Linked DNA regions of Homo sapiens: region 1 is linked to region 2. The links are contacts of gene promoters, found by promoter capture Hi-C in blood cells and fetal thymus (Javierre and others, 2016). All regions are on one chromosome and are shown on one strand. Each heading gives the region's core, a stretch centred on a gene start or on the middle of the fragment in contact. The rest is flanking DNA. Distances are from core to core; before and after follow the strand shown. Region 1 has its middle 340 kb from the start of LINC00474. Region 2 holds the start of TRIM32 (tripartite motif containing 32).

Region 1 (3,883 bases), core at 1,314-3,813, 1.1 Mb after region 2:
ACATAAAATACAGAGGTGTGCTTGTATTCTGGTCTTTGCAAAAGTGTGTTTTGTGAAATATGTTAGAGGAAAAAAATTAATTAAAATATTCTGGCCGGGTGCGGTGGCTCATGCCTGTAATCCCAGCTCTTTGGGAGGCCGAGGTGGGCGGATCACGAGGTCAGGAGATCGAGACCTTCCTGGCTAATACGGTGAAACCCCGTCTCTACTAAAAATACAAAAAATTAGCCGGGCGAGGTGGCTGCTGCCTGTAGTCCCAGCTACTCAGGAGGCTGAGGCAGGAGAATGGCGTGAACCCGGGAGGCGGAGCTTGCAGTGAGCGGAGATCGCGCCACTGCACTCCAGCCTGGGCGACAGGAGCGAGACTCCGTCTCAAAAAAAAAAAAAAAAAAAAAAAAAAAACTCTAATCTGGGATAGATGAACACACACATAATTTCTTTTTAAAAAATTGAGAAATGTCGATATGTGTTGTTCCTTTTTTCTGCCTCATTTCATGAATTCCCATTTTAAAAATGGGACAGTTGAGGTCCACAGGACAGTCACACAGTGGTTAAAAATGGGACAGTTGAGGTCCATAGGACAGTCACACAGTGTTCCAATGCTGTGCTTATGCAATGACAATGTCTTTTGGAAATATGTATCAAGACAGAACCTCTATTGGCCTGTGTGCCTGCCTGAACTATGCTGAACAGAGACCCATGCTAACTGATAACATACTGTAGTGTGAACAGAAAATAAATGTATGTGAAGAAAAAAAGAACTTAAACAAGAAGTCCTCGAGATCTTTTTGTTATTTGCTTCTGCAGCATAACCTCAGTTACCCTGAATTCTATAACACATCTTTCATTAGCTAGCTTCTGTTTTGCTCCCCTCTGGTTCAAAGGGTACAGGGGACAAGGAGATGGGTCATTTATTATTCCTGATTGACTTCTCACTCTCTAGGCCCTGCCGAAGATTAAAGCTGACTTCCTTTCTCTTGGGGTGTTTCCCTGAACTCCTCAGAGGTTTCATGTTGGACACTCCTCCCCTGCAGCTTCTTTGACCCCAGGCTTTTCTAGCTATTCTAGGAGGTCTCTGGGGATCTGTCCTCATTATCTGGGCCTTCACACACAAGTATACCCCCAGTCTCCTTTTGTAAGTTTTCCTTCTCCCTCCAGGCAGACCTACTGGACAAAACCAACCAAGACTCCAGTGAGCTCTGTATCATTGGCCCACACATGTTCCCTGGGAAACAATCACTGGCTCCTTGCCCTGATGAACTTTCTAACTGCAGGTCAGTAGCAATGCAACAGTCTCTCCTGGCTCTAATTCAAAGCAGTTAGTCAGCTCTTCTTTTCTCTTTCATATTTACTGAAGCCAGACTTCAGTCTACAGTCAGCTTTAGATTTCTTAACATGACCTAATTGTGGCCTTTCATATCTCAGACTTGCAAGGGATGCATTCCAGAGTTCTTTAACTGGTATCCCTAGAGCCCCCCTTACTAGCTAAGCATTGGAAGATAGCACAGTATATTAGATAATAGGGAAGTCCAACTGCTATAACAATCAACCTTCAGATCTCTCTGTCTTGACTCAGTAGTGCTTATTTCTTATTCATGTCTCCATCCATGCAGGTTGGCAGCAGAGAGGGACCCTGTTTCAAGCTGTCATTCATGGACCCTTGCTCTTTCCATGTAGTGGCTCAGATCCTCCATGGCCTTTCAGTTCTCCTCTATATTCATTTCATTCAGCTGCAGAGGATGAGAAAAAGAGCATGTGAAGTATCACACAGGAGATTTTAGAAGCCAGACTTGGAAGTAGCATTTATAACTTCCACTCATATTTCTTTGGTCTGTTCATTGCAATGAGAGTTGAGAAACATAGTCTAGCTGTCTCCAGAAGAAAAAGGAACCATGTAGCATGTTTTAGGCAACACGTCACATTGTTTCTACTTCAGTCCTCAGCTCTGGTTACTGAATATCCATTTTACTATTCTTCCCATACATAGAATACACTCAGCTTGTTCCCAGGAGAAATAAGCCAAAGTCCCACTAAGTCACCTCATCTAGCTCAAGGTCCAAGATACTTCACTGATGCATAGTTTTCTCCATCAGTTCACAACATGAGTTCTCAGGTTCTGGGTAACTATTCAGAAAAGAGGTAAATAGGAGACACACAGCAGTTACTGGACTAATGCAAGTTTGAAATCTCGCTGGGGAGACATTGTGAAGGTCCTCTATGGAGAAGAGAGAAAGTTCATGGATAAGCCCTGATTTTGTTCTCTGAACAATACTTCTTTGGGCACTCATTGTTTTCAGTGGCTCTTGGCTGCAAACTCAGACGTTCTCTCCTATCCATTACACTCCTATGCCACAATTGAAGTGGACCTTTGGGAATGCCTTCCTTGGGGGCTACTTATACTTTGCAGCCTATATCCAATCCAAAAGTTGTTCTAAGCTTTGCCAAGCCCTTGCAGGGTTTTGAACTGGGATGATGCTTTCATGGCAATATTGTTTCCTCAAAAATATTGTGGGCTTATGATTTATTTGATTCCAATCAGTTTCATGTACTAGTGAATACACCCAACATTCTGTCCCAGATAGAGTTTTTAAATTTTTTTTTTTTTTTTTGCATCCTCCTCATAGGCTTCCTCATGTCCCATCTTTATGTGTTGACAGCAACCTTGAAGTTATCTGGAATAGTAAGCTTGAGAGATAACTGTAGCTCTTTTCAGAATTATCTTTACTGAAGGGCCAAATTACTTTTCCTTTTGTTATTCAGACTACTTATTGAATTCTTGCTATGTAAATAGCTTTTTAAAAATTATTTATTTATTTATTTATTTACCTTCTCATCTTTCACTGTTTGAGACCTAGAAGCAGTAGGTTTTTCTAAACATTTAATGCCACAAATTTCTGGAATCTTTTTAATTATCTTGCATTTGAGGTTCCAAACTGGGAAATTCTTTATGGAGCTCATCTCTTTCCTTTATCCCTTGTCAATGTCAGCCAAAAGAAGGCAAGATAGGCTGGGCACCGTGGCCCATTCCTGTAGTCCCAACACTTTGGGAGGCTGAGGTGAGCGGATCACCTGAAATCAAGAGTTCAAGACCAGGCTGGCTGATATGGTGAGACCCTGTCTCTACTAAAAATACAAAAAATTAGCCAGGCATGGTGGTGCATGCCAGTAATCCCAGTTACTCAGGAGGCTGAGGCACAAGAATCACTTGAACCTGAGAAGCGGAGGTTGCAGTGAGCCAAGATCACAGATCACACCACTGCATGGCAACAGAGTGAGAAGCCATCTTAAAAAAAAAAAAAAAAAAAAAAAAAAAAAAGCAAGCTATACCCACTCTGTTGTTTTTTTTTTTTTTCCAACTGTGTACCTTAAAGCTATATTTCTCCAAGTGAATGGTCTGCTTTACACCTTATGGCATGCAACTCTTTTACCAAATGCTCTTGTACCACATAATATGGTCTGTTATCTACACAGCCTCTGATATCATTTTTCTAGCTGACCAACCACAAAGCCAAAGACACATATTTATTTTCTGTGGCAATACTGCCATTTACCAATTAATGTATTAGTCGGAGTAATTCTGTATCAAACCACCTCAGTGTCCCAAAGACTTTTCACAATAAAAGTATATTTCTTGCTGCCACCATAGCTGAATGAAATTTGGCAACAGGGACTCTATTCTCAGCAGTTAATAAATTCCCTGGTTCATTCCACCTCGTGTCTCTGCTATCACATTAGATTTTGCTGCATGTTAGGGTAAAGTTGGTAACTTAAAAAAACAAAGCAAGACAATACAAAACTCTGATGCCCAGCTCCTATGCCATACTAATTAAATCAGAGAATCTGGGAGTAGGAGCCAAACATCGTCAGTGTTTTTTAAAGATCC
Region 2 (3,869 bases), core at 1,127-3,626:
CTGGCAATCCTCTTTTTCATTAGAGGGGAATGGGCTGAGAAAATAAGACTAAGCAGGCCCTAGCAAGGAAGAAGCAAGGAAAGCGGGAATATACGGAGTTACAGAGATCTGGGTATGAGCTTAACTGTGTCATTCCTAGCTATGGAAACTTAGGCAAGTCACTTCCTAAGCCTTAGTTTCCTCATGTGTAAAACTGAATACAGTAGAGCCTACTTAGAAGGACTGTCATGAAAACTGAGTAAAGAAGTAGATACAAGACTAAAAATTACTAGATTTTGAGAACTTACTATGTGCCAGATCCTAGGCATGCTAGTTTACTTCACTAAATCCTCACAACAATTCTGTGACATTGGTCTTGTTATCATAACCCCATTTTACAGATGAAGAGCCAAGGCACTGGGTGGTTAAGTAACTCATTCAAGGCCACAAAGTCAGGAAGAGATAGAGCTAGGACTTAAAGTCAGGAAGAGATAGAGCTAGGACTTGAACCCAGGGTATCTGACTCTAGGTCAGAGTGCCTCAACTTTGGCATTACTGACATTTTAGGCAGGATAATTCCTTACTGCGGGGGGGAAGGGCGTATCCCACACATTGTCAAATGTTTAACATAAAACATTATGTTTAATGTTTAATCTACCCACTTGAGGCCAGTAGTATCCCCCACCCTGTGACAACCAAAAAACATCTCCAGACATTGCCTAATGTCTCCTAGGAGACAAAGCCAGACTTGGTTAAGAACCACTGCTTTACAGTCTAGCACAGGACTAAATGCTCAATACCTAAGGGTTCCCTTTTTTTTTTCTGGTGGTTGTTGTTGTTGTTTTGTCTGTCTCCGAGCCCAAACACCTCACTCACAGAGCCACTGCCCCTTCAAGCTGTAATGGATCTTATATAGGATAAATTATTCCACTCATTCCCCTGGAGGTCTCACTTTCTATCTGCTATCGTAGCTTGGGGGTACAGGGAAAAAGGGCTTAGGCAGATGACCTTGAATAGTTCCACTTCTTCTTCCCCAAAGCCTACCACTTTCAGTGGGCCGGGGGACCGGTGGTCAGAATGGAGTTAGTGGCAATACCATACCTGCCTCATGATAACGGATCTTTGTTTAATAAATGAAGAAGATTCTGCCCTTCACAGGGATTACCACACTCCTTCAGGATTATCTGAACTGAAGATTTATCACTTTGTTCCTCAGCACCTGAACTCTGCTCATCTTCATATACTCATCCAGTTTCATACATTACTTTTAGGTCCTTGGGTCCCCTGAACTCCCTCTGTCTCCCATGCAGCGATTTAAGGAAAATCTCTTTAGCAGCCCAAGACACCAATCCACAAATCTACTCAGGGTCCTTTGATTTTATAGCCCAGTTAGGACATCTCCACCCCACGATTCAATCCTCTCCAAACCCTGTCCCCAACCCTCTTACAATTCCAAATTCCAATCTTTGGGGCTGTATATTGCAACCCTCGTCAATTCCTCACTCATATGCCCCAAATCCCTCGGACTCAGATCGTTTAATCCCTATTTCCAAATCTCTGCCACACTCAGCCCCGCACCTCAGTTCAACGCCCCAATTCCTCACCCCAGATTTCTGCTCTCCCTCAATCTGAGCCCCCATCTCCTGCATTCCATCGGGCACTGTGCTGCCCTCATACCCTGCTCCTTCCTCTTATGCACTGAATGTCATGTGCTGCCTTCACACCTCAGCCAGCTCCCTTCTTTCTGCTAACAAGATAGAGTCCCTCAAGAACTCACCCCACCCCCTCAATCTCACCCTCAGCCCACTCCGAAAACCCTTTCTCAATAGCACTTAGGATCGCCCTAGACCTTGCTCCTATCATCTCAGACCCTGTCCTTGCCAGATGCCTAGCGCCCCCAGATTTCCTCAAATCTCATCGGGGCCCCCCAGTTCCTTCATATTTCTGAAATTCTGCACCCAGGTCCCTCCAGGGCCCTGATTCCCTCCCATCTCCCACATGCTACACCCCGTTCCTCCTCAGGGCCCCGACATTACCTCATACCTCCCGAGATGCTGCAACCGCAAATCTCTTCAGAGCCCCTCGCTCCCCTCCCCCAGCTGCATCTCCTCGGATCTCCTCAGCCCCACGAATCCCTCCCGAGCCTGCCCCTCGCAGCCCCACCCCCACCCTAGTCCTGCCCCCCCCAGATCCGGTCCCCACACCCTGCCATTCGGGCGCGGCCGCTGCACGCCGGCACGTTCCCCCGCCTGGCCGCTGAGCCACGGCCCACGACTCCGGCCGCGGTCCCCAGTCCCCAACCCTCCTTCCCGCCCCCTACCTGACCGCCCGCGGCTCCGACGAGTCCACCGCCGGCAGCCCACCCGCCTGCCTCCCTCTGCGCACGCGCCGTTGAGCACCCCTTGCCGGGCGCCAATTCGCAGAGCTCCCTGTCCGTCACTGAGCCCCGCCTCCCCAGCATGCTGGGGCTTGTCGTGCAGCTGGCCCCAAGCGCGCGGGGCAAGGCGGCCCTGCAGGGGTGAGCTTTCCTCTGAGAACCCGGGGCCTTAGCGACACGTAATCCAGTTTTCCGTCTCCTTGGTGCAGATGAAGAAACCGACGCCCATGGGCGAAAGGGACCTGCTCAAGTTCACTCAGTAAGTCAGGAGATAAGCCAGAATGCGTATCTGACTCCAGTCTCAATGTCTACCCCTTCACAAAACGGTAGCCTCCAGGGTAGTCCTCAGCAAAGCGTTGGCACCTTACTGAATCTGTTTTTCCATCTGAGAAATGGGCCAACGGAAAAATCAAACTTCCATTCTGGGGAAGTCGAGAACCGGGACTCCCTAGGAAGGGCAGTGCTTTGGCCTCATGTTCTGTGCTCTGACAGAGAGCTGCACTAGAGACAAGTTTATCCATGAACACATTGCTCTGTAAAGGAATGTTTTGCCTACTCAGCTGGGAGGCCGACAGCAGAGGCAGACTTGGGGAGTACACTCTGCAGCCCCTGTCCCTGCAGACTGAAGGTACCCGGGAACCCAAACCAAGTGTAGTTTTGCTCGGGTGAAGGTGGAGGAATCTTACCAGGTGGGAGGTGATCTGGCCTGAGATTTGAGGGAATCTGGGGCACTAGGCATCTGGCAAGGACGAGGTCTGATACAGGACTGGCTGGCCACGACCTGCAGTCCCTGAAGTAGTTTGGGGCCAATCACCTACTCTCCAAGGTGACTATACTGTACAGCTTAGGAGCACAAAGGAGTTTGAAGTAGGATGGACTTGGATTTGAAATTCCCCTTAGCTATGTGACCCTGCACAATGATAAAACAATAAACAAAAACAATGACTAACATCTTTGAACACTTGCTGTCTGGCTACAGCTGAGGACTTCAGGTGCATAGCTCACTAAATCCTCATAAGGACCTAATGAGATAAGGCAGCTGATGGTTAACCTACACCTGTTGTGTAACCTAGGTGGTTACACAAGGCCACATATACCTAAGTGTTGGAGCCCAAATTTGTACCCAATTCTATCTGAGAACCCACTCTCTTAACCTTGTTTACTCTTTCTCCCCATTTTCTAAATTTCTAATTGAAGTTTGCCATGAAGATAAGCCAAGATTATGGTAGTTTGCACTTAATGATAACTATATTTGAAAAATTGTAATTAGCAGGTAGGGGATAAGGGAGAGGTAATGCCAAATGATTTCTCACTTAGACCAGTTGGGGAGACTTTGCACCCGTTTAAAATTTTTTTTTTTCCTGAAAACCACAGTTATCAGCCCAAAGTATAAATTTAGGACTGTTCATAGTCTTACATATATACATATTATATATGTGTGTATATGTATCAATACAGACATACTGATGTTTCCCTAATTACAGAGGAGTGTTAAAAATACTCCTGGGGATCT

What was found. Contacts are between HindIII fragments. The CHiCAGO score rates a contact against its expected background, and 5 or more counts as called.
Region 1: a fragment that was not itself captured here is called in contact with the fragment with the promoter of TRIM32 in region 2 in 2 of 17 cell types (M0 macrophages and M2 macrophages); the score reaches 6.7 in M0 macrophages.

Annotation. Positions count from the first base shown.
Region 1 is chr9:115,587,647-115,591,529 of GRCh38, reverse strand. No RefSeq gene overlaps it. Among named protein-coding and RNA genes, the nearest start is that of LINC00474, 340 kb to the left of the region's middle. The HindIII fragment of the contact is 249 bases long and covers 2,439-2,687 here.
Region 2 is chr9:116,685,812-116,689,680 of GRCh38, reverse strand. It overlaps TRIM32 (tripartite motif containing 32), which reads right to left and starts at 2,376. Exons shown (of 2, transcript NM_012210.4): 1 at 2,300-2,376. The region is part of intron 16 of ASTN2 (astrotactin 2); the gene reads left to right. RefSeq lists enhancers at 1,900-1,949, 2,390-2,709 and a silencer at 2,120-2,319. The HindIII fragment of the contact is 17,529 bases long and covers 1-3,869 here.